Regions from separate parts of the Homo sapiens genome. Here regions 1, 2, 3, 4, 5 and 7 are each linked to region 6. Evidence: promoter capture Hi-C in 16 types of primary human blood cells and fetal thymus (Javierre and others, 2016). All regions are on one chromosome and are shown on one strand. Each heading gives the region's core, a stretch centred on a gene start or on the middle of the fragment in contact. The rest is flanking DNA. Distances are from core to core; before and after follow the strand shown. Region 1 holds the start of TENT4B (terminal nucleotidyltransferase 4B). Region 2 has its middle 5.3 kb from the start of ADCY7. Region 3 overlaps TENT4B (terminal nucleotidyltransferase 4B). Region 4 overlaps TENT4B (terminal nucleotidyltransferase 4B). Region 5 overlaps TENT4B (terminal nucleotidyltransferase 4B). Region 6 holds the start of NKD1-AS1 (NKD1 antisense RNA 1). Region 7 has its middle 31 kb from the start of TENT4B.

Region 1 (3,672 bases), core at 358-2,857, 460 kb after region 6:
CCATCCCACGCCACCCTCTGCATAGACAGGGCATCTGTGACATGGGAATTTTTTAAAAATAAAAAGATGGGCCAAAGGGTCAAGAGCAGGCAATGCCTTACAGGGCTGACATAATTGCTGTCTGGGATTGGGGGATGGGGAGGAGCATTCTGGATGTTTCTATTCTTGGCAAGGAAAGCACCTCCGGGTCCTGCACCATCAAAAAACACTCACACACCAATGTTCTCAGGGAATGAATGATAGGCCCGTGCTAAGCGGTCTCATCTTGAGTTGTGATGATGGGGAAAAAGGTGTGGAGGGCTGGAGGCGGGGTGGTGGTCAAGGGTAGATGTGTTTAACTAAGGGGGATGGGAGGAGAGTGAATGGATAAAGGGGGGGGCCTGGGGAAGGTGTGGACGGTTAAGAGGGAGGGGAGGAAGGTGTGGACGACTAAGGGAGGACAGGAGACGGAGGGTGTGGACGGCTAAGGAGGCTTGGGGAAAGGTGTGAACGACTGGGGGGTTGGGGATGGCCAGCAGCACCCCCGTGCAACAGCAGCGAAGGCAGGCCGTGGGGGTGGCCGCTCCTAGACCCTCACAACCCCCCTCTGTGGGCGTGTGCCCGGCTGCGCATTCGCACCGGCCAGGCCATCGGGCCGCAGAGCCAGCACTCACCCCACGACTCCCTGGTTGTAGTTCCTCCGTTTCCACGGGGTCCCGCTGTACACGACCCCGCCGCCGTCTGCTCGGCCGCCCCCCGCGGCCCGCCCTCCGCTGGGCTGCAGCAGGCTGTAGTTGAGTCCATACGTGCTGGCCTTGTTGTCGCGCTTCCTCTTGTTGCTGCTGCCCGAGGCCGAATCGGCTGGATCGGCGGCGGGGACGGCGGCCGAAGGGTGCGGGGACGAGGACGCCGAGGGAGGCGAGGACGCCGAGGAGCCCGCCCGGCGGGCCCAGGCCCCGGGCTGGTGGTGGTTGTTGTTGTTGTTGGTCGTCTCTAGGGGCAGGAAGTCCCGCTGCTCCGCGGGCAGCGCGTGGCTGCCCAGCAGGCGCTCCCCGGAGCGATACATGCCGGCCGGGGCCGGGGCCGGGGCCGAGGCCGCGCCGCCGGGGCTGCCGGTGCTGCTGCCGCTCCCGCCGGTGGCCGTGCTGCTGCTGCTGCTGCTGCCGCCGCCGCCGCTCGCGCCGCCGCTGCTGTGACAGTGGTGGTTGAAGTAGAGGTTCCTCAGCCCCTGGGTCGTCTCCCAGATCTGCATCCACAGACTGTTGGACGGTCCGAGCTGCTCTGGCTGAAACCAGGCGATCCTCGGATCCATCAAACGGCGGCGGCCGCTGCCCCCGCCCCTCCCGGCCGCCCGCAGGGCCGCCGCCGCCGCCGCCTCAGGCGCACGCCCGGCCTCGGCTGCTGCTGCTGCTGCCGCTGCTGCCGCTGCTGCTGCTGCTGCTGCTCGGGGCCCGCCGCGGGCGGCGCGGTCGCGCAGGGAGCCCGGCCGGCGCCGGCGGCGTCGCTCCCGCCCTCGGGGGCTCCGCGGGCCCTCCCCCCCTCCCTCCGCCCCTCCGCCCCTCCGCCGAGCCCCTGTCACTGGGGTCCCCGTGCAAATGGCGGCGGCGGCGGCGGCGGCTCCACAGAAGAGCGAGCGGCGGCGGCGGCAGCGGCGGCAGCGAGACGCGCCTGCTCCGTAGCGTCCTCGCTCCTCCGGCCCCGGGGCGGGGCCTCTGCCGGCTCCGCCCCTCTCGCTCCGCCCCCCCCCCCCACCGCCCCGCCCTCACGCGCTCGCCCCGCCCCCGCTGCGCCGCGCAGCAGCCCGGGAGGCCTCGCCGTGCGTCACAGAGGCCGCGGCGCGACGGGGCCGCAACCGCCTGGCCCAACCGTACTTGCGCCATCTGTGGAGTGCTCCCACGTACCTGGGCGTCCGGGAGCTTCTGAGGCGCGCGCGGCTTCTCCGCCTCGGCTTCCCCGGTGCTGAGCGTGGACGAGGCCGCATGGAGGTTGCCGCCCGCCCCGCAGGGAGCGCGTTGTGGGAGGTGCCACTCCGCCCCTCGCTCCTCGCCCCTCCCATCCCTGTGGCCGCCGGATCCCGGGCCCTCGCAACCCTTCCTGACGTCTTGGCTTCTGCCTGCTTTCTAAAACACTTTCTTTTTAAAAAAAAAAAAAAAAAAAAAAACAGCCTATAACACTTTTTCTGGTGGCGTGGGGACACGCCCCCTGCCCGAGCGTGTGCCCCGGGGTCCTGACGCGGGCTGCGCGAGACCCTGCACGGCTACGTGTGCCCCGCCCTGCTGCGCCCTGGCCGGGGTGGGGGACCCCTCACCCCGGCCTGAGGCCACAGAAACCTGTACCCCATGCATAGCCCTGGGGGAGACCACTAAGACTGAGAGTGTGAGCCAAGGGCGGAAAGCCGCAGCCGCACACTCAACCCACTTTACAGGGACACGCAAACACGTGTAGATGCACAGAGAAGCAGACACACTCCTGCGCGGCGTAGCAAAGACGCTCTCCTGCCCTAAGGTGCACCAACAGCCTTAGAAAGCTCTTCTGAGTTCAGCATTAAATTTTAAGAAAACCCAAAACCTTTTAATCCTAAAATGAAGATTTAGCATCAGCAAAGATTGTCCACTAGGTCGTTATTTGCATGTCTTTCAAATCTCAGTGGTTAAAAAGCCAAGGAAAGGGGAATGTTAAGTATTTTAAATCAAGAGACTAAAAGAAAGTAAGTGAACAGCTTCTATGTGGGCCCTTTAAGGTTGGTCCAACGTCCAGAACAAGTCCCTGATGCCTGATATTGGCCTTCCATTTTGGGAGCTCAATATCCTGGAAAGTTTTTATGACAAATAGTGGAAAACTATCAAAGAACTAAGTGTCGCTCTACCTTTTTCTTTCTTTCGAGACTAACTCTTGCTCTGTCATCTGGAGTTCAGTGACTCATTCACAGCTCACTGCAGGCTCGGCCTCTTGGGTTCAAGCGATCCTCTTGCCCCAGCCTCCGAGTAGCTAGGACTATAGGCACGCGTCAACATGGCATAGAGACGAAGTTGCTCTGCGCTGCCCAGGCTGGTCTGGAACTCCTGGACTTAAGCGATCCTCCTACCTCAGACTCCAAAACTGCTGGGATTACAAGGGGGTGAGCCACCACGCCTGACCTTACTTTTTTTTTTTTTTTTGGTAAGAGAATAAATAGCACGACCAGAAATACGGAAAACACACAAAGACCCTTCAGCTGCAAACAACAGCTTCCTTGGTAGTTTATGCAGCCTGTTTCTTGTATGGGCTGCTCTAAGGGACCATGGAGACAGGCCTTTCAGATGTATGTTCATGTCTTTGACCTTGCACTACGCCAATGTAGGCTCCAGGCAGATATTCGAGGTGCCTTTGAAAAGCTCCAGGGCACTGTGGCCAGGGTTCACATTGGCCAAGTTATCATGTCCATCTGCAACAAGCTGCAGAATAAGGAGCATGTGATTGAATCCCTGCTCAGGGCCAAGTTCAAGTTCCCTGGCTGCCAGAAGATCCACATTTCAAAGAAGTGGGGCTTCACCAAGTTCACTGCGGATGAATTTGAAGACATGGTGGCTGAAAAGCGGCTCATCGCAGATGACTGTGGGGTCAAGTACATCCCCATCATGGCCCTCTGGACAAGTGGCGTGCCCTGCCCTCGTGAGGGCTTCCACTGTGCTGCCCCCTCTTAATACTCCCCAG
Region 2 (4,042 bases), core at 89-2,588, 350 kb after region 6:
GAGCACACACAGGTCAATGCTCCCTGGGATCCACACAGGCATCACCCAGGACTTTACACACACAGCCTCATGGCACTCCCTGGCAGCCCCACTGAGGAAGGCCCTGCTATCATCCCTCTGTAGAATAAGGCACCAAGGCTCAGAGACACCACATTGCTGGCCCAAGCACACACAGCTATGAAAAGGCAGAGCCAGGATTCAAGCTCAGATCTACCTGACTTCACAACCCATGCTCCTGACCCTCCCTGGGAACAAGGACAAGCTTCCATAGGGACAGGCTACCCCTAACCCCATTACAAGGTAATGAGCATGGTGAGTACCCTCACCCAAGATCTCCCAGCCCTGGCACACAGTGCTCCCAAGTGTGCTGAACAAACACCCGCTTTCTTTCAACTCCCCCAAAGAAGGGCAACCTTGGGCTTTCACAGTAGCAGACAGGGAAGGCTGGTTTCTGCTTGGTAGAGGCGCCAGGGCACACAGCACAACCCCAATCCTTTCCTGTCCCTCTCAGCAACCCCCATCCTCTTCCCTGGTGCTAGGGACACAAAACTGACTTGGACATAGTTCCCTTTCATGCAAGTTCCTAGGCTGGGAGGAGGTAAGAGGTGCCCATCAAAGGCATGGCATAAAGCTCTGGGGAGAAGCCGGCAGGGCATGGTGGCTCACACCTGTAATCCCAGTACTTTGGGAGGCTGAGGAGGGTGGATCACTTGAGGCCAGGAGTTCGAGACCAGCCTGGCCAACATGGTGAAACCCCGTCTCTAATAAAAATACAAAAATTAGCCGGGCTTGAGGGCAGGCGCCTGAATCCCAGCTACGCAGGAGGCTGAGGTGGGAGGAATACAAAAATTAGCCAGGCATTGTGGCGGGCACCTGAATCCCAGCTACTCGGGAGGCTGAGGTGGGAGGATCGCTTGAGCCTAGGAAGCAAAGGTTGCAGTAAGCTGAGATCACACCACTGCACTCCAGCCTGGGTGACAAAGTGAGACCCTGTCTCAAAAAAAAAAAAAAAGAGATCTGAGGAGAAGTACCCAGCAGGGTCCAGGCATATGTGGCCCAGAGTTTAGGGGAGAAGGACTTCCTACCCTGGGCAACAATGGGGGCTCAAGATGAGGCCATGAAACAGTCAGTAGGAGAGACTCAAACTGCAGCCAAAACGAAGCAGACAGTCAAGCTGTCAGTCAGCCAAGGGACAAATAACACTGAGTGCTGAGCAAACAGCTTGGCCCTGCCACACAAACCTAGATGTCGAGCCCTTACTGGGGGAAGGAAAGCCCCAGCACCCAGTGGGCTTGGAACTCTGGGCACGTCTCTGTAGGGGCCAGGGGATATGAGAACAAAAACCACCGTCCATGCCACAGTCACCTCTTCCTTCCCCTAAGGTCGGGGGTTCACGGCACCGGGAGGAGCCCTGGGAGGGTCTGAGCAATTGGGCTGGCCACTTGTCGCCAACCTCGCCTATCGTCCTGGCAGGATGAAGAGGAGCCTTCAGGAAGGTCCTGCTATTATTCCTGTCTGAGAGCTCTGGAGTCAGGGGCTCCAGGGAGAGACTTTGGCGGAGCTAGGGGACCCTGGTGGCTCAGGGAGTCCCTCTGTAAAGTCAGGAGATGTGGCCCACTCTGCTGGGAGCCCGTGGGGGGCTGTGAGAAATGCCGACAAGGCACATGGTGGGTGCTGGGTGCAAGCCAGCAGGGAGGAGGCCAGCCAGGCGTTCTCCCCGCTCTAAACCCTAAATCCCTAGGCTCTGCGACGTGCCTGCCCCTCCTTCAAACAACTTCCATGGCTTGCCTGTGCCTCCAGAGGCAAGTCCTGCCTCCTCCTCCTGCCTCTCGGGGACCCCCACCTGGCCCAACTCACTTTTCCATCCTTATCTGCCTCCACCTGCTACCCAGCTGCCTGACTCTTCCATTTCTTTGCTCAGGCCTTAGTGTCCCTGGAATGCTCAAAATGCTACCCATCCCGCCAGGTACTGGTGCCGCCTCTACCAGGAAGCCTTCCCCAGTGCCCCACCATCACCTCCTCTAGGCCACAATGCCATAGACCTCTCCACAGAGGATGTCATGTCCACTTTTGGTAACAGCTCCCTGTTCCTATGGGGAACCAGCCCTGCAGGGGTGGACTCACAACTAGCGTATATGGAGGAATGGGTGTGAGACTCAGGTGGTCCTGTGAAATTCACTTCCAGGACTTTTGTTGGGACTGTGGGAAAGTGTTCTCATTCACTTGGCAGTAGGTGTGAGCTACGAGCCACTGGGGCCATCTTTGCCACAGTGGCAGTCAGCCTCCAGTGACCCTTGTCCCCTGGCACTCATGTCTGTGAATGGTCCCCTCCCACACCACCTGTGTGACCAATAAAATATCGTGGAAACCACAATATGCGGCTTCTGAGATCATGAAAGATCTCAGAAGCTTCCACTCAGCTTTCCTTTGGATCTCTCCCTCTAGGGGAAGCCAGACACCATGGCTCGAGGACACTCAAGCAGCCCCAAGGAGGGATCTGTGTTCGAGGAACGGAGGCCTCCCGCCAGCAGCCAGCACCAACCCACCCTGCATGTGACAAAGCTGCCTTGGAGGCAGACCCTCCAGCCCCAGTCAAGCCTTCAGATGACTGCAGCTTGACAGGCAGCTTGATTGCAACCTCATCAGAGAACCCCAGCCAGAAGCACCCAGCTCAGCCTGAACTCCTGACCTACAGAAATTATGAGGTAATTGGAATAATTTGTTACACAGCAATAGATTACAAATACAACCTCTCTGTGGAAGAACTGGCCTGAAAAGGAAGCCAAGACAGAGAAATGGAGAGAGAAGCAGAGTCTTCATGATACCATTTGAGCCCCTGGATCCAGCCATGCCTGAATCCCCACAAAGTCTCAAGTCCTCTCTTTCTCCCTTTCCCTTTGGTTACAGTGGGTTTCTGGTACTTGCAGCTCAAAGAACCTGAACTTATTCATGCAGCACCCTCCCTGCTCAGGAGTGACTGAAGGTCCTGTCTTCTCCTCCATCAGACCCATCTGGCTGAGGGCAAGGACCACCTCTCCCCAGCACCACAGGACCTCACGACATTTCTGCCAGATTGACCTGTACCCAGATACTCCCAACAATAACACAGTGCAGCCAGCCGTGTGAGCGTCCCCTCCTGCTCACCCTACGTGGGAGGACAGAGCAGGGCTGACTCCGTGTGGTTTCACGCCCCCCAGCTCTTCCACACTTGGGACTGAGGTGAGCTCCCCAGGGAGAGGGACTCGCAGAGGCAGCACAGCTCGATGGAGACACTCCCCCTCCTCCCAGATGCATCTTTCACGCTGGGAGGCGGGGAACATTCCAGTGCATCCACCCACCTCCTCCAGGCCTCTGCCCACATCTCTTCTCAGCTGTGGGCTCAGGGATGTGCAGGGATCTGTTCCTGTGCAGGCTAGGAACATAAGAAAATGCCCGGGTCCACTAGCGCCTTCTGACCCCTAATCAGTGGTGGTCCTAAGGGGTGGCCTGGGGTAAGCCCCAAAGCCACTCCAAATGAACACATATTCTAAGTAAACAGCATCTTTCCCATTAAACCCGGCACCCTGCGGCTACTGCCCCTCCTAAATCGCTGCTGCTTGGCTGAGTTCCAATGCCACAACAAGGAAAGATGAACAGCCCGACTTCATGTAAGCGACAAAGCCCACTCAAGGGCAGGGGCCTGACTCCCATGATCCCCAGGGCCCCGATCTCTGCCACGCCTGGGAGACGGGGCTTTGGAGAAGGAAAGGGGCAGCTGGGGTCATGGTGTGTTGAGTAACAGCAGAGAATCCTAAAAGAACAGATGTGAAAGCAACCGCCCTGCCAACCAAAAGCCCTTATTTCCTTTGAAAAACTTGGCAGCTGGGCCGCACCAGAGGCCGCCTGTCCTTCCCTGCACCCGGCCCAGTGTGACCCATGGACAGGCAGGGAGGAAGGCCATGTCCCTCCCACCAGATCCTCAAAGGGGGCTTCAGACATACCACAAATTGAAAATAGCAGCTCCTAGAACTGCATGTGAAGTGTGACCCCTTTCTTTTTTAAC
Region 3 (3,958 bases), core at 469-2,968, 400 kb after region 6:
CTTCTCTTTACACTAATAATTTCTAAGGATAGCTTGCCTTTAGTAGTTGCTATTAGCACTACAAAAAAAAAATAGTTGTTAGTCATCCAATCCAATGAAAATAGTTAGGAAGCCTCAATTCTAAAGACTGCAGAAAATTGTTTGCCTTTAAAATTTAATTAGACCACAACTCTACAGAGCACTTCTACTTGCATGTGAGGACTAGCATGAGATACCAGCAGATAGGCTTCTAGCCCGTGGACAAGGACTGTCCGAAGCATAAGCTACCCAGGAAGGGACTCACGTCAGCGCTGGGCCAGAGCTCCTTAATTACACTCTCGATCCTGTTCACCACCTCCATCCGCATCTTCTCCTCCTCAGGTCTTGGAGACATGTATTCATAAAAATCACTGATTTCTTCATGCAGACTGAAGAAAAAAACAGAAAAGTTAATATGAACAGGGCCAATCTAATGAGAAATCACTATCTTAAATAATCTTATCTAATTAAGTCTTATAATTCAGCTGATGACTACCTTAATTTTAATGTTATAACTCAAGATAAGCTAAAATGGGAATGTACAGAATTTAATCAAAAAACCCAAAATAATTAAATAATGAGAAATTTCCTGTGCAAAACACTTGCTGGGGTGCTGGTGATTTAAATAAAATAAAACAAGCATACGGGCTGGCCTCTGCCTTTCCACTTCTGATCTAATAGACACAAGATACTGAACCCAGGTGACACAGGCAAGTTTCCTGGCAGTAGGGACTGACCCTCTTATCTCTTGGGGATCCATTCCTCACAGTAGCAAACAGTACATCTTTCATAATGTTTGCTCAGTGAATTAAGTGTCAAATGAACAAATCAGGCAGTGAACAACAGCAAAGTCTTGAAAAGAATGGCTGGCAAAGGCTCCATGAAGGAGCTGAAGACTTCCAGAGCCTGCGAGGTACAGGGCAATCAGCCAGCTACAAGGGCTGTGGCAGGCAGAGTGGGAGAAGCATCTGTAGAGGAAAGCAGGCCCCAGCAGAGGGCAGGCTCTGAATGACTGGCTAAGAGGTTCAAGCTTTCCCCCTGTGGCAACAGATAGCTATTTAAATGTTTCTGAGAGGGACCAAAAGAGACTGACTTCAAAAATGCAGCATTTTAAGAAGATTAAACTGGCAACTATGGAAACAATGGACCAGCAAAGAGACTAGACTGGATGCAGGGAAAAGTCATGAATCACTGAGTTGCAAAAGGATTGGATGAAGGCCTAGAGGCTGGTGGAAGGAAAGGAATGGGCTCCAGAAACAAAAGACACACACATACCCACACCCTGCGGATAGGCGCAGCGCCTGACTATCATGGTGGTGGGGGGCTAAGGATGCCTTCAAGGGCTGAAGCCTGAGGGACTGGGGGAAAACTACTGGTCTGGAAGAAAGGACAAACTCACTGGGCTGAGCAATGACTTGAACATAGTCAGGACGGGGGACAGAGAGAAAAGCAGCATTCCTTTCTAAGTTGGTGAGGCTGTGAAGAGCTATGGCTGGGAAGGGAAAGTGAAGTGGTCAGCTCACCTTCCCTAGAGCACTGACCACCCACGAGGACTGAGCCACAGAGGTAAGCACAGGGACTCTACCAACTGGGATAGACCAGAAGGCTCGGAGCAACAGGTGCAAAGTGCCTTAGGGGAAGGAGGGGCAGGGGGTTTGGCCTGGGGCACAGCAGTGGTAAGGAAGGGCAGCCACAGCTTAACAGAGCCTTGAAGGAGGAGCATGTCTGCAACTGCATGGCAACTTCAGGGTCCAGAGCAGGAAGCTCGAAAAACTGGCAGGCCAAAAATTGTTTTAGGGAAGGAAAAAAAAGTGTCTACATCCCAATCCCCAAAGACTATAACTTTTGCTACAAGAAACCTTAGAAAGTGAAAATGTGACTGATTAAGCAATCCATAGTTCCTCCTTCTGATTTTTTATTTTTAGCCTAAGAGTCAAAAACCTTGAGTTCTAGACTCAGGTTCTGCCTGAGGGCAGCTGTGTTCCCTCTGACAGGTGACTGGCACTCTCAGGCTTCAGTGTGTCAGGTACAGCACACAGCTGGTAAGCAGGAGCCTTTTCAGGCCTTCAGTTTCAAAACCTGGGCCTTTCGTAGAGGATGATTTACAACAGCGTTCGGCCTGTTTGCTATGCAATATGTCATAAAACGTGGATCTTAAAACTCCAGAGAGGTCTGTAGGTGAATCCAGAAGATATCCCAGTGGGGACGTTTTCCTTGCTATGCCTCTGGGTACCTCAGGACCTTCAACTTCCGTTTCGAAGTTTTGTTTTGATTTGAGTTTCCCAGGTTTGATTATGTTCTCTAAGGTTATCTAAACCCTTCTGCTTCTTGAAGACAGCAGCTGAATGGGAATAGCTGTTAGGAAGCTTATGCTTTGCTGTGCTCTTCTGCACAGGTTGGCTGGCAAAGATGAGGGCCATGAATAAACGACAGAACAAATGGACTGCTTCTTATCTCATTGCGTAGTCTGCTGTGAGTGATCGGAGTTTATTTGTAGTTCTAAAGCAGATCCATAGAAAAACTGCATTTTAACCAATGGGGGGGAAAAATCTCCTAAATGTGACTGCATCTACTCTCAAGGCCCCCTTACGAATTTTCTAATTCAAATAAAGGCAAAAAATATTTAGCACAACTGCCAGTCAATCTGAAGTCATAAGAAACTTATTAAGAATTCATTCTCTGGCCAGGCGCAGTGGCTCACGCCTGTAATCCCAGCACTTTGGGAGGCTGAGGCAGGCAGATCGCCTGAGGCCAGGAGTTGGAGACCATCTGGCCAACACGCAAAACCCCATCTCTACTAAAAATATAAAAATTAGCTGGGTGTGGTGGCGCATGCCTGTAATTCCAGCTCCTCGGGAGGATGAGGCACAAAAATCACTTCAACTTGGGAGGTGGAGGCTGCAGTGAGCTGACACCGTGCCACTGCAATCCAGCCTGGGCAATGGAGTGAGACTTTGTCTCAAAAAAAAAAAAGACAATTCATTCTCTAAACACTACCAAGTGCCTATGTTCAAGGCACTAGGAGAAAACTGGCTCATAAAACATGATCCTTGCCCTGGGTCACTTCCATCTAACAATGAAAAGGAACACTTATTTAAAGCAGTTTTGTAGTGTGTGCAATGCATATGTTCTGTACTATTCTGCCACAGGCAGCTTCCAGATGAATGATTCAGAGCTTTCCAATGATCACAGCTGCCCAGGATGGACTGGGTCACCTTGTAGGTTAGTAAGGTTCCTGTTACTACCAGCATAAAGAAACCAGATGACCATGAGGCAAACAAAGGTCCAATAAAAGGGCTTTCTGAGCTTGGTAAAAAGTTGGAAAAGATTCTAAAATTCACTTTCAGTGCTGCAATTCTAGGGTTCTAACTAGCACATTAATTTGGGGGGAATTATTATAGATTTATAAGACAGGCTCTGAAGACTACCCTCAACAATCAATAGCCCATGGCACCACCTTCCTATTTTAGAAAAAATGGTTCCACAGGTTATTGTATTTTGATTGATGCATATTTGCCACACTGGAAGGAGAAAAGAGGAATACAGAAAAAGAGGAGGGCTATTATTAAAGCAAAGCCACACTTGCAAAGTCAGAAGAGGAAATCCAATCTCGGGTCTGCCAGGCTCAGTTTCTCATCCACACCAGGCACAAGCATCACCATCTCACCTATATGTAACTAGCTACGTGTGAAATACTCAGAGAACAACCAGATAAAATATCTTGGAATACTGAGGAAATAAACTTCAAGTACAGATTTTAAAATAATTCTAACAGGCTCTATCCTCAGGACTGAGTAATTTTACTGGCACAGTGCCTTGCATATTCAGGCACTTAAAATACCCTGACGAGCTGGAAGTCCGTTTGTAGAGTGTGCACTGTAAGTCTGGCTCTCATTTGAGTGGCAGAGTGGACCACCTGAGGAATTTTGTAGGCTTGCTT
Region 4 (4,107 bases), core at 507-3,006, 380 kb after region 6:
TCATTAGCTGTTCTTATTGACATAGCTAAAATATCTCTCAGTAAATCCAGGAGCTACCACAAATGTGTAATAACCAAAGGGAATGCACTACATCCATCTCTCTGGTTCTGTCTCCTTTTCTTTCAGGCTACTAGGCTACAGACAAGGTTAAACTCAATAAAGTACACACTTAAGTAGAAAATGTAAAGGCCAAACACATTTTTTTTAAAAAAACCAAAAACCTGAGAGACAGTAAAATAAACATTAGCAGTTTATTAACTAAAAACTGTCCTCAAATATTTAATTCTAGGTATCAAATAGATCAGCAGCCTTTATAAGCAATTTTTCTGGTTAATAATTTTGTCAACATTCAACGTCTATATATATTTAGCTCATTATCTTTGACCAAAAAAAAAAGAAAAGTCGCTAAGGGTGTGAAGTCAAGATGGCTTAGAACAAGATGACTGAGAAAAAGGCTTCCAGTTAGGTCAAGTTTTCAAATCATGTAAATAACTTCTACAGTAAAATCTGGCTTCTTAGCTATGTTAAATATCGAGAAGCATATTAAAATTTGATCTTTAACACTTATTCTACCCACAAATGTTTTGACAAGATGGCAGGTAGCTAGAGTCTTGAGGGTCAGAAACCAAGGCAAGATGAACTCTTTTAAGGAATTTCATATATAAATCTTTGTTCCCACTTTAATGCTGGAATGTTAACATCATTCTCTAAATATTTTACTAGATGAACTATGACCCTGATGAAAATTACTATCAACAGTAACTACTAAATATAACTTTTATATTCAATTAGGTTTGTTAGACGCATTTATAGAATATTTTGCTCATAAAATACTTTGAGAATGTGCCTTTCCAATAACTGAAAGTTTAATGAACTAGGAGAACAAGAATAGATGGGTAAGAATAAATTCTTCTGTTCATTAATTTTAACATTTCAATATTTATCACAGCAAAATTGGGAATGTATTTTTGATAGTTTACCATTTAGTTTTGACTGTGAAGCAACCAACTGCCTAGAAACATTCTTGGTTAGTGACAGAAACACTGAGAAATCAACATATTAGAATTCAAGGAACTGATCAAACTATAGATCAATATTAAAGTAAAACTGAGATGTAGTCATGACCAATAAAAGTATCAGCAACATCTACCACTAATACCTAATAATGGTGATTTCTAACAGATCAACCTTAATAACTACACCTCCTAGTCACTGGAGAGGGCTTTGCAATGAACATGTCACAGCAAGAGAATCCTGCACGTCACGGTGGTCATTACTCTTTTCTGACCCTCTAGTGTTTCCAGAAACCCCAAACACTAGTCCACAGGTTCAGGCAAACACAAGTCACACTTACCATTTCATGGGGGAGGGAAGGAGCAGAAAACACATGGAGAGATATAAGGTTCCAGCAGAAAAAGACAATTAAAAATGCTCACCCTATAGCCCATGTTTTGCCCTGTGCAGATCTAGGAATATCTGGAGCCAAATCAAATAACCTAAATATTAATGAGGCTCAAAATGCAAGTAAAGGTAAAGTACACTCAAAACAGGATAAAAATAAAACAGAATCAACTGTTGAAGACTGGAGGGCAATTACTTGTAAAAAACATAGGTCCTACAGATCCAAGCTAGATTTGAAAACTGAGTGCGACATCTCCAAACCAAACAAAGACATTCAAAACCAGGCACCTTCACAGTCACCTTAAAGCTGGAGGGAAAAAATGGATATACTTTTATCATCAAAACATAACCAGTAAGATTTTGTGCTGACACCTCACCAACCCATCAGCTCCTCTAAAAAACAGTCTTTAAATATTAATATTTCTAATGGCCAGGTACACATACATGACTGCCTGAGAAATGTCACCAGAGTGAGGGAGAATTTGTAAAATCCCATTCAACAAGTATTAGCAAAGGAAGGTTATGATTCATGGATATGAATGGACTCTAATATATAAATGACACATTTCTGATATATTCACAAAATATAGGAAGTATTAAAACTCAAAAAAGAAATAAGATAGGAGTCAAATAGATGAAATGTATAAAACAAATGAGCAGGCAAACTAAAAGTTCTTGAAAGTATTTTACTTCAGATTGAAAAATGAACAGCTTCCACACTGTTCACTGCAAGATACACAGTATTCACGAATACAATGCTGGTCATTTGAGGAAATGTATACACACCTCAATTTCTCCTTCATGCTTTTTTCTTTTAGAAAGATACTGTTTACCAAAAAGAAACTTCAGCAGTACAGGAAAAACTATTTTCCCAATAAATTTACGAAAACCTAAGATTCCCAATGGAATCAGAATTATCTTCCCGCTACCACCACCTTAATATAATCACATGCTTATTGGAACACTAATATTCGCACCCTAAGAGTACATTTACTTTCAACAATGAGGGTGATTCTTTAAAAACAAACAAAAAACAACAAAAAAAACTTCAGTGTGGTAAATGTAACATAGATCTCTGCAAGTATTAAGTGTCTGAAATAGGCAGCTAATACTGGATTTAATATTATTTTATAAATAATTGTTCCCTTAGCAGTAAACATAAGTCTACACATTCACAATTGTCCTAGAAAATAAATACTGTGATTATGCACAATGTTATGACAAACTAGTTTCAAAAACAAAAGCTCAACATCTCAATAAAAATTCTGATCAGAATAAAATGTGACTCTAAAATTTAAAACATTGTCAAAATAACATCACATTTGAAATCTTCCACAGTTTACACGAGTACTATGAGTTTCCAGTTTTGGAACACATTTTTCCATTGTGAATTAAAATATGAACATATTGAAAATTGTTAATTTCAGTGATGACATCAGTTTTGGTCTTACTTTAGCATTATTTTCTTTATAAAAAGTTACACTAAGTGTCCATTAATGGTCTGATTGGTCTTCAGTATTTCATAAATGTATATAAAAGAAACTCCTAAAAGCCAATAGTACTTTATATGTATATATATATAAAAGAATCTCGTCTCAGAAATGGCTGCATTTAACAGAGCCATACACATTGATGCTAAACATAAGAGCTTTCACCCTGAAAGAAAGCATTTTCAGAAATGTCACTTACATTCTATTATATTAAATATTCCCAACTGAGTTTCAAACTCAACAGGTAATGATAACAGAATTATACATCTCATTGCACTCAAAGCTGACTACAACCAAAATTTACAGTATGATTGAAACAAGCCAATGTTTAAAAAAGTTTTAATTAACGATAACAATTCCATGAAAGAAGAGGATAAAGAATGGGATGACAAGAAGTATTTGGTCTTAATAAGGCAATACAAAATAGATCCATTATCAAAGACCATTTAATTTGTAAAGATCAACAATACCAAAAGCATAGAGTGGAATATAAGAAAATAGTTTTTTATAAGTATGATTTAATTAAAGCTGTTTACAGTTATTCTCCCACAGTAGTTAAGCATGAATTTTAAAAAGAATAAGAGATGAGAAACAGGCACACGCAGCACACAGGGTTAGAGAAGCCAGCATGCAAAGTCTGTGGAACTCGAAGTTTCACTGCAACAGGAATGAGACCAGACATGGGTGACCTTTTTTTTTTTTTTTTTCCTATTAGGAAGAAATGGGGGGAAAAAAAAAAGACTGCAAAGGAAGCAAACACAAAGTCATGTAATTGCCCATTGCCCAAGACGACAGCACTATAGAAAACAGTTGCAAGTTAATTCTCGGAGATGACCAGAGATTTTTCAGTGTTTACACAAAAGTACATAGTACATTTTTTTTTTTTTACAAAATAAAATAAACATCATTTGCCACCATAAACCTTTTCTTTAGAGAGGAAAAATTTTTGCAGCAGGACACAAGGGTTCTATTAAGTCATTTCAATGCTGAGAAAAACAAATTGAGTAATAGAACTAATCACTTCCCTATATATGGATGTTAAGATGACAATTTAGATTATTTTTCAAACTAATCCTGAGAAAAAATCTGTTTACAATTTAAACAGTAATGTTATGTAAAAAGTATTATTAACAAATCCACTATTACAAATATCAATCTCCTATATGGTCTTCTATATATACACACAATAAAATGGTAAATATATGCAAAAATATTT
Region 5 (4,050 bases), core at 129-2,628, 430 kb after region 6:
ACTTAGATGGAAGAGGCAAATTGATAGAGATAGAAAGTAGAATGGTGATTGCCAGCATCTAGTTGCAGGGAAGGAGTGATAAACTATTGTTTAATGAGTACAGAGTTTCTGTTTAGGATGATGAAAAGTTCTGGCAATGGACAATGGTGATGGTTATACAACACTGTGAATGTACTTAATGCCACTGACTTGTAAACTTAAAAATGGCTAAAATGGTAAATTTTATCTTATGTATATTTTACCACAATAAGAAAAACGTTAAGCTAACACTGGATATCTATAAAAATGTTTTGTGCAGAACTTAATTTGAGAAACACCACTACAGAATTAAAAGTAAAAATTACACCATTTATGTAATGTTTAAAAATACAGACAATAGTGTACTAATAGATGTAAACATAGATGAGAGCATAAAAGTACGGATGGAAAGGGCACACATTTGCCTCTGAGGACAGGTCACCTCTGAGGAAGTGGGGGTAAGGGGGAGTGAGAGGTATGCCAAGGGTGTGCAGGTGAATCTGAGTAGTTGCATTCCTTAAGAAAAGAGAGAGGGAGGAAGGGAAGGAAGGAGGGAATAAAGGAAATCAAATGTGTCAAATCCCAGTGGAAGGTAACCAGAGCTTCGATACGTTACTCTGCATCCTCTTCACGTGTTAAGTAATTATAAAAACAAACTCTGAAATCACTAAAAATCAAAGGTTTACACAATAAGGAAGCATGTAAATTAAAACTTCCCTCAACCATTTTACACAGTGAATGAACAGATGACCCATTGACACAGGGAAATGTTCCAGAACTTACCATAAAGACCAGCTTGAACTTTCCTTCCCTCCTCCCTCCTCACAGATCTAAGATGCCATGAACAGTCAACTGGAGTTGCCAATCACCATTCACTAGCCAGACTTCTCTCTCACTTCATGACCATAATTGGTCCTGTACTTTGTACTTGCCTCCAAAACTGCAAGTTAAGTAAGCATTAATCCCCATTAGAAGTAAGGTGAAAGCTGCAGCATTCCTCTCGATATACAAGTAAATTCCTACTAGGCTAGTAATACACAGTAAGATTGGTTGATAATTTACTTACTGCAAGTAACTGAAAATTGTCATTACTTAGATGCAGAAATTCCCACAGAAGCCAGAAACTTGGAAGCAAACTACAACTTGGAGCTTGCTTCTTTGCTAGTCATACCAAGACTACCCAAAGAGTATCAGGGTGGAAATAACCCTAGCGCCTCTCTCTCTTTCTCACTCGCCTGCACAATCAGGTCTTTTATTTTCTTTTTAGGCAAAGCACTATTTCCATCTAAGTACAGGGAATGTGAGAACACAACAGGCTCAATTAACACTCAGAACCAAAAGTGGGGATACTCCTAGATATTGACCCAAGAGAAATGAAAAATGTATGCTCACACAAAAATTGCAGCATGATACTCAGGAGCCTGAGGCACAAGAATCACTAGAACCAGGGGGCGGAGGAGGCTGCAGTAAGCCTACTACACTCCAGCCTGCGTAACAGAGTGAGACTGTGCCCTCCGCTCCCCCCACAAACAAAACAAAACAAAATAAAAAAAAACCCTCAAGCATGATGGCAGCATTATTCTCTTTTTTTTTTCTTTTTGAGATGGAGTCTCGCTCTGTCGCCCAGGCTGGAGTGCAGTGGCGCCATCTCGGCTCACTGCCAGCTCCGCCTCCCGGGTTTACGCCATTCTCCTGCCTCAGCCTCCTGCGTAGCTGGGACTATAGGCGCCCGCCACCACGCCCGGCTAATTTTTTGTTTTTTAGTAGAGACGGGGTTTCACCGTGTTAGCCAGGATGGTCTCGATCTCCTGACCCTCGTATCCACCCGCCTCAGCCTCCCAAAGTGCTGGGATTACAGGCGTGAGCCACCGCGCCCGGCCGGCAGCATTACTCTTAATAGTCAATGGAAAACAACCTAAATGTCCATCAACTGATGAATAGATAAACAAAACATGGTATAACCATACAATGGAATATTACCCAGCCACATAAAGGATAAAGTAATGATACATGCTATAACACAGATGGACCTGGAAGACATTATTCTAAGTGAAAAAAGGCAGACATCAAAAGCCATTAATTTTGGCCTTCCAAAATTAATGTATTATACTACTGTATTGTGCATTCCATTAATATGAAATGTCCAAAACAGTCAAATCCGTGGAGACAAAAAGTATTCTGATGGTTGCCTAGTGCTGGGAGGTTAGGGGAGAAATGAGGAGGAACGACTAATGAATACAAAGTTTCTTTTTGGGTTGATGAAAATGTTCTACAACTTATTCTGGTGATGGTTGCACAACTCTAGGAATACATTAAAACATAAAAGATATAATTCACCCACTTTAAATGGGTTAGCCACCACGCCTGGCTAATTTTGTATTTTTAGTAGAGACGGGGTTTCACCATGTTGGCCAGGCTGGTCTCAAACTCCTGACCTCAGGTGATCTGCCCACCTCGGCCTCCCAAAGTGCTGGGATTACAGGCATGAGCTACCGCGCCTGGCCAAATCTGCCCAATTCTTTTGCAGATGCTTCTCCACTGGAAGACACAAATGCCCATTTCTGAAACGGCTAAATCTCTCAACTTATCGAGTTCCTGTGTATGTGATCTTCTGGCCAAGGACACACAATTTTCTAATTCAATGGTGCCAAGTACACTATTACTTCACTTTCAGATAAGAAGGTGATTAATAAAACAGGAATTCAAAGTACTGTAAAAATAAGAATTCCAAAAAAAAAAAAAAAAGGGTTTTTAAGTGACTAAGTATAACAAGAAAAATAGAAAGACCAGCACATTAATGAACCTTCAAAGTATGACAACACAACCAACACAGTCATACATCTCAAAACACACACACACACTCCAATGAACACACCAGGCAAAAATCCCACAACCGCTACAGCAAGATAAAATACAAGAAAGCAGCCAGGCACGGTGGCTCACACCTGTAATCCCAGCACTTTGGGAGGCTCAGGTGGGTGGATCACCTGAGGTCGGGAGTTTGAGACCAGCCTGACCAACATGGAGGAACCCCGTCTCTACTAAAAATAGAAAAATTAGCCGGGTGTGGTGGCACATGCCTGTAATCCCAGCTACTTGGGAGGCTGAGGCAGAAGAATCGCTTGAACCTGGGAGGCAGAGGTTGCGGTGAGTCGAGATTGGGCCATTGCACTCCAGCCTGGGTGACAAGAGTGAAACTCCATCTCAAAAATAAATAAATAAATAAAAATAAAAAAAAAATACAAGAAAGCCGGGTGTGGTGCTGCACACCTATAATCCCAGCTACTCCGGAGGCTGAGGCAGAAGGATTGCTTGAGCCCAGCCTAGGCAACTTGGCCTAACTCAAAAAAAAAAAAAAAAAAAAAAAAAAAAAAAGGTAAAATAAAACTTGCTGTACTTGGTAGACCTTGAGTGTTAAAAGTTTTCCTCATTCACTGTTAAACCTCACAATCTTTCTGGCAACATACATGAATCTCAGCAATCTTATTTTGAGGAACACAGATGGAAATACTAGGTGAAAAGTAAATAACTTTTCAGGAAAGAAGCTTCTAGCACTTTATTTACAATAGAAAATAAGAAGCAATTTAGATGTCCAAGAATAAGAGAATGCTTAAGTAAACCTTGGCATGTTCACATAGGAAAGTGTATTTACAAAAAAAGCTATATATGTCAACTATATAAATACATGGAAAAGACCATGTAAAATGTAAACTAGGAGACACATTAAGACCTTTCATGTTGACAAAAATTATTTTTCACAAGGGATCTTTTACAATGACACAATACTATCAGCTTAAGGGGACTAAGAAATAGTTGATACTTTATAACGAAGAGGTATTTTGAAATTCTAGGCATTTGGAGTTAATATTTTAGTCAAGTTGAACAAATGTAGGAGAAAAATTAATAAATATACAACCTATAGTTTCTAACACTGACATGAAGCACCAAAGAAAACGCAGAGCACATCAAATTAAGTTTTCTCTTGATGATTCTTTTTCTCCTTTTTTTATGGCAGGGTTTCACTCTGTTGCC
Region 6 (3,789 bases), core at 91-2,590:
TCCTGAAGGCCACGTGGCTGGTCCTAGGTCAGTATGAAAGAAGAGTTTATGAAGAAGCTAATGAAGCTAGGCTTCTGGGCCCTCTCACCTACACGGGCCCTTTCCAAGTCAGGATGGGTCTTTGCAAGGTGTTTATGTGGTCATATGTGTTTGTATTTGTAACATTTTCCAAATTAGGCATTTTATCCTCAATCTATTAAGATTGTCATCTAACCATTCTGACATCCTTTGCCTGTGTGAGGTGATACTAGGGGAAATACAGGCATTTCTGGACATGAGCTAAGGAGAGACTGAGTTGGTGAGATATTTATTTTGGTTTGGCCCCAGAAAGCTTCAGGTCCCATAAAACCTAGATCTACCCTGGTCAAGTGACCAGTAAAGTGGTCAATAAAGTGAGTCCAACATGTGCAAGAACCCCTGTGACCTGGGAACTTTCTTCCACCTGACAGGGCTGTGCTCATAGGATGGGAGTGCCCAGAGCTGGGAACTGCCACCCTTGCCCCCTGTGGGGGAGAAGCCACCAGGGGACAGAGGGAGAGATGATGGAGAGGGAGAGAGAGGGGCAGCGAGCGAGACATGTGTGTGAATGTGTGAGTATACGTGTGTGTGTGAGTGTGTGTGTGTGCGTGCATGTGTCCATGACATGGTTTTAGCTCCAGAATCCAAACAGGCCTTTTTAGGCAAGATCTACCCTAGGATTTTTCAATTTCATGAGCCAAAAGTTTAAGTGAGTTTCCAAAAGAACCGAAAGAATCCTGACTTAACAAATCCGTCTCTCTGAGATCCTGCTTTTTAGGAAAAACCACCAGCACCAGCACCACAGCAGTAATTCACTCACCCAGGGCAGTCCCTCTAGGGTGATTTCCAGCTTTTTCACCTGTGGGTGTCTGCCCCTTCCTGAGACCAGAAATGCCACCAGGGACTTCTTCTCCACCATCCTGCCTCCCAGCTGCATTTTACTGCCACTAGATTTTGCTTATGGACCAATTGTAACTGAGGGGAAACAAAAAAGGGGGAAAAGCGGGTAGGGGAGGAAATCCTTCTCAACAAATAACATTCTGGCCTTTTTTTCCTCATCAGAGCATAAGGCTGGTGGCCACTCGGCTTTGACATCTGAACAGGATTGAGACGAAACATCTGTTCAGGGAGGGAGGGGGAAGCCCCGGGAGAGAAGGGGAAAGGGGAGAAAAAGCCTTCTGTGGGCTAAAAATATCACGTCCCTTCCACTCTCCCCCGCCCGCCCCCACCCAAGTTAAAACATGTGATGAAATTCGGCTTTTACAATCTAACCCCGAGCTACTTGAAACTATTAAAGCCTCTCCGGTATCTGACACAAGTCAGAATTTCCACTGTTCCAGCTGAGCTTTTATGAGGAGCAGACTTGAGAGAAACTGCCAAGGTAACAAAGTCCGCTTGTTCTCTGTCACCGCTGCAACTCAGCTTCTGGGGGGACTGTAGGGGAGTGGAGAGTCAGGGCCGCTGACACCCCCCGACAGGACAGGCTCTGAACTGAGGGAGAGGAGCCGGCGGGGCATGGGCACCTGCCCCTCCATCTGGGGGTCCCTGCTGCCTTCCCATGAACTCCTCTTCCTCCCAGCCTTCCTGGGAAGCCACCGCCAGCCCTGTGTATTGAGGAGCCTTGCCCGAGAGTCCCGGGCAATGTCCGTGGCTACTTCCTGAGAAGTCTTGACTCGCTCTCTCTCTCTGTTTCTTGCCCAACTGCTCCTTGAACCCCAAGCTCCAATCACCAGGTATCCCACGGCCTCCTCGGTACCTCTCCTTGGATGTTAAATGGGCATCTTGAACCCAACTGGTCCAAAAACGGGAGGCTTGATGGTCACCCGCCAAAACCTCCACCTCAGAAGTGACACCGCCAAATCCTTAGTTCCTGAAACCAAAAGTCTAAGATGCATCCCTGATCTCTCTCGTTCCCTCAACCCCCTTCTCACCAGCTCCAACCTCCAGCCCCATGGACCTCTCCCCAGCCCCAAGCTCCCAGGCTAGGCCAGCACCATCTCCTCTCGCCTGCGACCCTGCAGTCACCTCCTGGTTTCATTGCCCTCTTCCTCCCTGCCCATGGGCAGTCCCTCCCAGAAGCCAGAATTAACTTCTTAAAACAGAGGTCAGAATCCAGCAGTCACCCACCCAACCATCTGGGCAGAACCACGCAACCTAAGGGCGTGGTCCCACACTTGCCGACCACCCCACTCTCATTCCTGATGCCACATCGGCCTCCTTTTTGTTCTTCCCCAAACACCAAGTTCCCTCCACTCTGGGGTTCTGCTCACTCATAGCTGCTCTCCCCCTACATTCTTCCATGGCTGGCTCCTTCCTGGCATCTGCATCTCAGCTGAAACATCACCTTCTCAGAAAAGCCTCCTCACTCTACCTCTCCCTGGGTTTTACGTCTTAGCAGAGAACCACTACTAGAAACTTCCATGCTCCTTCGCAGATTTATGTATTCATCCCTGCCTCCCTCCTGTGAATGTCGTGACTGCTGGGCCTGCCTACCTTGCTCGTGCCTGTGAACCCAGGGCCCAGCAGAGCCCCTAGCTGCAGCAAATGCCCAGCACATACTGAATGGTGAGGAGTGAGGGGCCAGATTCTGTTCTCAGTCTGCTGTGTGACCCTGGACAGGTCACTTCCCTCTCTGGGCTTCAGTTTTCCAACTACAGATGAAAGGAAGTACAGGCCTCCCAAGTTCCTTTGCCCAACATCTGACCCCTGGGAGCCTGGACAGACTGGCCCAGGCCCCAACACAGGTACACAGGTCCTGCCTGAGAGGCCGGAGGGAGGGGTCACCTGCTTTCAGTGAGGCAGAGGGAGAGGTCACCTGCTTTCAGTGACTACAGGGTATTGACTTTCCTTCTTCAGTGAGTGTTTATTTATTGAGCACATACAGCATGCCAGACCCTACTCCAGGCACCAGGAGTACGGGGAGGCCTTTGGAGATTCTAACAGGATTAAAGAAGCTTTGCAAAGAGGTCCTCTTTGATCTGGGCTAGGTAAATGATTATAAACACGGGCTGACACCTCTTCAAGAAAACTGAACCCAGGAAACAAGAATCATGGCAGCTCAAGTGTGCTGGGCACTTACTCTGTACCAGGGCCACCCTTGCGACCTACATCCATCACCTCATTGTCTTCACAATAACCCTGGCAAAGAAGTGCTACAAGGAACCCAGTGAGGAAGTTGAGCCACAGGGAAGTGACTCACCCAAGGTCACACAGTGAGTGTGGGTAAGCCAGGCTGGAATGGGGTCTGAGCTGCGAATTCACAGGAAGTCAGAATCAAGGGAGGAGAGATGAGGAAGGCAAAGTTAGGGACCATTGCAGAGCTGAACAGGCCCCGAGCTCCCCGAGTGCTGCTCAGCCCCCACCAGGCCTCAGTCTTAACACTGCTCCCTGCTGGGCAGAACCACCAACTCCAGGCACATCCACCCTTGGGCTGAGGAAGCAGAGACCACCCCACGGGCTGCCACATGCGCACGCCAGGCCAGTGGGGAGAGGGCAGCAGGGCCAAAGCAAGGCCTGCCCTGGAAGCTGGGAGGCCTGGGCCTGGTCCCGAGGAGGAGGGGCTGCCTGACTTCAGTGGCTCTGAGCATCTCCTTTAGGGAAGCTGCAGAGCAGCCTTCCTAAAGATGCCGGAGAGTGGAGAAATAGAAACCAGGCACTTGAGGATGCGGAGAGACAACGAGCAAAGGCCCAGAGATGAGACACAGAGATAGCCAAGAAGCTGGGCGGGGGCAGCGTTCACCAGGTGAGAGGCAGGGGGGACCTGGAGAGAGG
Region 7 (4,013 bases), core at 1,277-3,776, 490 kb after region 6:
GGCCAGGAGTACAAGACCAGCCTGGGCAACACAGTGAGACCCTGTTTCTATAAAAAGTTTATTAAAGATTAGCTGGGCAGGCCAGGTGCGGTGGCTCACGCCTGTAATCCCAGCACTTTGGGAGGCCGAGGTGGGCAGATCATGAGGTCAGGAGTTCGAGACCAGCCTGGCCAACATGGTGAAACCCCGTCTCTACTAACAATACAAAAATTAGCCAGGCATGGTGGTGGATACCTGTAATCCCAGCTACTCAGGAGGCTGAGGCAGGAGAATCACTTGAAACCAGAAGACGGAGGTTGCAGTGAGCTGAGATCGCACCACTGCACTTCAGCCTGGGCAACAAGAGCAAAACTCTGTCTAAAAAAAAAAAAAAAATTAGCTGGGCATGGTGGTGCATGCCTTTAGTCCCAGCTACTCAGGAGGCTGAGGCAGGAGGATTGCTTGAGCCCAAAAATTCGAGGTTACACAGAGCTACACAAAAATAATTGCTTTTTTGTGTGTGTGTCTTGCTGTGTCACCCAGGCTGTAGTGTGAACTTACTGCAACCTCTGCCTCCAGGGCTTAAGCGATTCTCCTGCCTCAGCCTCTTGAGTAGCTGGGATTATAGGCACCCACCACCACGCCTGGCTAATTTTTCCATTTTTAGTAGAGATGGGGTTTCGGCAGGTTGGCTAGGCTGGTCTTGAACTCCTGACCTCGGGTGATTCACCCGCCTCAGCCCCCCAAAGTGCTGGGATTACAGGCATGAGCCACTGCGCCCAGCCAATAAGACTTCCGTCTTGCTAGCAGATATGCTTTCTTCTGCTGGCCTGGCCTGAAGCAAGCTGCTGCTTGTCAACTGCACAGGGGCAGCCTCCAGGAACTGAGGACCTCTGGCCAACAGCTGGTAAAAATCCAAAGCTCTCCATCCTATTCCTACAAGAAAATGAAGTCCACTAACCACTGGAGTGGGCTTAGAAGCAAATTCTTCTCCAGTTGAGTCTCCAGATGAGAACACAGCACTGTTGATAGCTTGATTGCAGCCTGGCAAGAACCTGAAACAGATAACTCAAGGAAACAGTGCATGGACTCTAGACCCACAAAAACTGAGAGAGACTAAATGTGTTTCTTTAAACTGCTGCATTTGCAACAATTTGTTACACAGCAATAGAAAACTAATATTGATTGGTTTGTTCATTGCTCTATCCTGAGTACATAGGACAGGATTCAAGCATACATTAGGTACTTAATAAATATTTGTTGAATGAGTATATTGTTACAGAAAAGCAAAATAGCAAACAAAGTGGGCCAATGTTATAATATGTTACCAGTCATAAGAGTGCCCTGTCTATGTGCATACACATCGTCTATCTCTAGAAGGGTATACATGGAAGTAACAGAAGACCAGGGGAGGAAAACTAGAGCATAAGAAATCCATGAAAAATTGAGACTTTCACTTTATACTCTTCTGAACTGTTATTTATTTATTTATTTATTTGAGACAGGGTCTCGCTCTGTCACCCAGGCTGGATCTGCAATGGTGTGATCATGGCTCACAGCAGCCTCCAATTCCTGGACCCAGGCAATCCTCCCACCTCAGCCTCTTGAGTAGCTGGGACTACAGGCAAGCACCACCACATCCAGCTACTTTTTTTTGTTGTTTTTTTGAGACGGAGTCTCGCTCTTTCGCCCAGGCTGGAGTGCAGTGGCACCATCTCGGCTCACTGCAAGCTCCACCTCCTGGGTTCACGCCATTCTCCTGCCTCAGCCTCCCAAGTAGCTGGGACTACAGGCGCCTGCCACCATGCCTGGCTAATTGTTTTTGTATTTTTAGTAGAGATGGGGTTTCACCGTGTTAGCCAGGATGGTCTCGATCTCCTGACCTCGTGATCTGCCCACCTCGGCTTCCCAAAGTGCTGGGATTACAGGCATGAGCCACTGCACCCAGCCACTTGTTTTTGTTTTTGTTTTCTTTTTTTTCATTTTTTTGTAGGGACGAGGTCTTGCTCTGTTGCCCAGGCTGGTCTCAAACTCCTAGGCAAGGAGGGAAAAATAAGGGAAAAGCTTGGCCCGCTTGTTTTGCATTTTACCTTGGAAAAGGCCCTCATGGCTTGGCTTGACACATGTCTGGAAAAAGAATTCCTAAAACAAAGGAAATTTTTTTAAAAGAGGAAAATAAGAATTTACCTTTCTGCTGCTTTTGTTGTTGTCATTTGTTTGTTTTGGGGGTTTTTTTTGAGATGGAGACTCACTCTGTCACCCAGGCTGGAGTACAGTGGCACAACCTCAACCCACTGCAACCTCTGTCTCTTGGGTTCGAACTATCCTCCTGTCTCAGCATCCTAAGTATCTGGGACTACAGGTGCATGCCACCATGCCCGATTAATTTTTTTGTATTTTCAGTAGAGACGAGGTTTCACCACGTTGGCCAGGCTGGTCTTGAGCTCCTGAACGCAAAAGATCGGCCTGCCTCAGCCTCCTAAAGTGCTGGGACTACAGGCGTGAGACACGGTGCCTGGCCCTTTTCTGCTTCTTTGTGATGTAGTCAAAACATAACGTGCTATTGACTCTGAAATTCTTTGTTTTTCTGGGGGAGGCCAAGGCAGGAGGGGCTCTGCAGGTACTGGATTACAGGTGTGAGCCACAGCACATGGCCTGAATTTCGTTTTTAATCTATAAATGTATCACTTAAACATGCACCCCCAAAACCAAATAGCTCCTATGACTTCCAATTTCAAGTAAAATCCCTTCTTCAGCACTTACTCCTTTACTTGGCGCTCTGCCTTCCCCATCCGGGAAACACCCTTGTCTGTTGCACCTGCCCCGTAATCCCCCTCCAGGATGTTTTGTGGTGAGCGCCTTCAACAAAAGAATAGCTACAGAATTAAATGTGTTTGGAACCACATGCACATCGTGCTTTGACTACCTCACAAAGGAGCAGAAAGGCAAATTCTGTTTCCAGTAATGTGCAAAGTCAAGCCACAAGGACCTTCTCTGAGGTAAAATGCAAAATGAAAGGGCCAAGCTTTTCCCTTATTGTGATTGTGTAACCAGCCTAACAGACATTTAATTTGAGAAAAAATTTGAATAATAATATGGAGTTACCCTGGAGTTTTGGGATGGTCTAAGAGTAAGCTTTGAAAAATGTGGCCAAAATGATTATAATCAGGGTGGGGGGAGCAATTTCTGTATTTATTTGGCTGACATGAAAAAAAAATCCAGCTGAAAATCTGCAGGCTGACAAATGGACAGAACCCATTACAGAGCAAGAAAAACTGAGTCAGAGAGGACAGGCTAGAGCTCTGGGAGGCCACACACCTTGTGCCAGAAATCGAAGCTGCCAAGCTTATCACTTACAAACCTTGTCATATCATGTTAGTGGGACGGTTTCAAATGGATAGCCCCTGATCTGTTTTGAAACTAGCCAATATAGCTGGGTGCGATGACTCACACCTGTAACCCCAGCACTTTGGGAGGCCAAGGCAGATGGATCACTTGAGGTCAGGAGAACGAGACCAGCCTGGACAACATGGTGAAACCCTGTCTCTACTAAAAATACAAAAGTTAGCCAGGTGTGGTGGTGGGCACCTATAATCTCAGCTACTCAGGAGGCTGAGGCTGGAGAATTGCTTGAACCTGGGAGGAGGAGGTTGCAGTGAGCCAAGATCGTGCTACTGCACTCCAGCCTGGGCGACAGAGCAAGACTCCATCTCCAAAAAAAAAAAGAAAAAAGAAAGAAACTAGCCAATATAACCAACTTAAAATATAATGGAAGTCATTTCTCTTAGGGCTATAGAGAATATGTGAGACACAGTGAGTGGACTGTTTCTTGTGATCACATCTTATTTACCTTCAGTAATTAGCAAGGGACTGTGACCACAGCAATACAAGATTATTGACCTGTTCAAAGTTCTAAAACAGGACCTGAAAAACACAACCATAATTAATGTTGAATGATTAATCAACATCTATGTGTTGATGGCTGAAAAACCTTGAGTTATAAGATATTATCTCTGTCTAGCTTTTTAAATCAT

Evidence for each region. The method cuts DNA at HindIII sites, captures the fragments that hold promoters and counts their contacts. A CHiCAGO score of 5 or more calls a contact.
Region 1: a contact is called between the fragment with the promoter of TENT4B here and the fragment with the promoter of NKD1-AS1 in region 6, in 10 of 17 cell types (monocytes, M1 macrophages, non-activated CD4 T cells and 7 more). The highest score is 8.1, in monocytes.
Region 2: a contact is called between a fragment that was not itself captured here and the fragment with the promoter of NKD1-AS1 in region 6, in 4 of 17 cell types (non-activated CD4 T cells, naive CD4 T cells, naive CD8 T cells and 1 more). The highest score is 8.6, in non-activated CD4 T cells.
Region 3: a fragment that was not itself captured here is called in contact with the fragment with the promoter of NKD1-AS1 in region 6 in 11 of 17 cell types (naive CD4 T cells, activated CD4 T cells, non-activated CD4 T cells and 8 more); the score reaches 13.1 in naive CD4 T cells.
Region 4: a fragment that was not itself captured here is called in contact with the fragment with the promoter of NKD1-AS1 in region 6 in 7 of 17 cell types (total CD8 T cells, non-activated CD4 T cells, naive B cells and 4 more); the score reaches 11.6 in total CD8 T cells.
Region 5: a contact is called between a fragment that was not itself captured here and the fragment with the promoter of NKD1-AS1 in region 6, in 4 of 17 cell types (non-activated CD4 T cells, naive CD4 T cells, neutrophils and 1 more). The highest score is 5.8, in non-activated CD4 T cells.
Region 7: a contact is called between a fragment that was not itself captured here and the fragment with the promoter of NKD1-AS1 in region 6, in 6 of 17 cell types (total CD8 T cells, naive CD8 T cells, naive CD4 T cells and 3 more). The highest score is 6.8, in total CD8 T cells.

What each region holds. Positions count from the first base shown.
Region 1 is chr16:50,151,241-50,154,912 of GRCh38, reverse strand. TENT4B (terminal nucleotidyltransferase 4B) reads right to left here and starts at 1,607. Exons shown (of 12, transcript NM_001365324.3): 1 at 654-1,607. The coding sequence starts at 1,291. It also overlaps the pseudogene RPL10P14 and the pseudogene LOC124900375. RefSeq lists silencers at 768-937, 1,058-1,107, 1,288-1,387, 1,618-1,777, 1,888-2,057 and 1 more and an enhancer at 1,594-2,551. The HindIII fragment of the contact is 13,709 bases long and covers 1-3,672 here.
Region 2 is chr16:50,259,231-50,263,272 of GRCh38, reverse strand. It overlaps a transcript of ADCY7 not described here. Among named protein-coding and RNA genes, the nearest start is that of ADCY7, 5.3 kb to the left of the region's middle. RefSeq lists an enhancer at 1,059-1,128. The HindIII fragment of the contact is 2,147 bases long and covers 265-2,411 here.
Region 3 is chr16:50,207,772-50,211,729 of GRCh38, reverse strand. It overlaps TENT4B (terminal nucleotidyltransferase 4B), which reads right to left. Exons shown (of 12, transcript NM_001365324.3): 2 at 284-407. Among named protein-coding and RNA genes, the nearest start is that of TENT4B, 56 kb to the right of the region's middle. RefSeq lists silencers at 858-1,152, 2,998-3,292 and an enhancer at 1,669-1,728. The HindIII fragment of the contact is 1,336 bases long and covers 1,051-2,386 here.
Region 4 is chr16:50,229,792-50,233,898 of GRCh38, reverse strand. TENT4B (terminal nucleotidyltransferase 4B) reads right to left here. Exons shown (of 12, transcript NM_001365324.3): 12 at 1-4,107. Among named protein-coding and RNA genes, the nearest start is that of ADCY7, 35 kb to the left of the region's middle. The HindIII fragment of the contact is 5,078 bases long and covers 1-4,107 here.
Region 5 is chr16:50,182,235-50,186,284 of GRCh38, reverse strand. All of the region lies in intron 1 of TENT4B (terminal nucleotidyltransferase 4B), which reads right to left. Among named protein-coding and RNA genes, the nearest start is that of TENT4B, 31 kb to the right of the region's middle. RefSeq lists enhancers at 1,184-1,745, 1,746-2,308. The HindIII fragment of the contact is 4,375 bases long and covers 1-3,565 here.
Region 6 is chr16:50,611,201-50,614,989 of GRCh38, reverse strand. NKD1-AS1 (NKD1 antisense RNA 1) reads left to right here and starts at 1,340. Exons shown (of 3, transcript XR_007065197.1): 1 at 1,340-1,399. All of the region lies in intron 4 of NKD1 (NKD inhibitor of Wnt signaling pathway 1), which reads right to left. The HindIII fragment of the contact is 2,641 bases long and covers 334-2,974 here.
Region 7 is chr16:50,120,784-50,124,796 of GRCh38, reverse strand. No RefSeq gene overlaps it. Among named protein-coding and RNA genes, the nearest start is that of TENT4B, 31 kb to the left of the region's middle. RefSeq lists an enhancer at 1,167-1,667 and silencers at 2,892-2,951, 3,242-3,331. The HindIII fragment of the contact is 961 bases long and covers 2,046-3,006 here.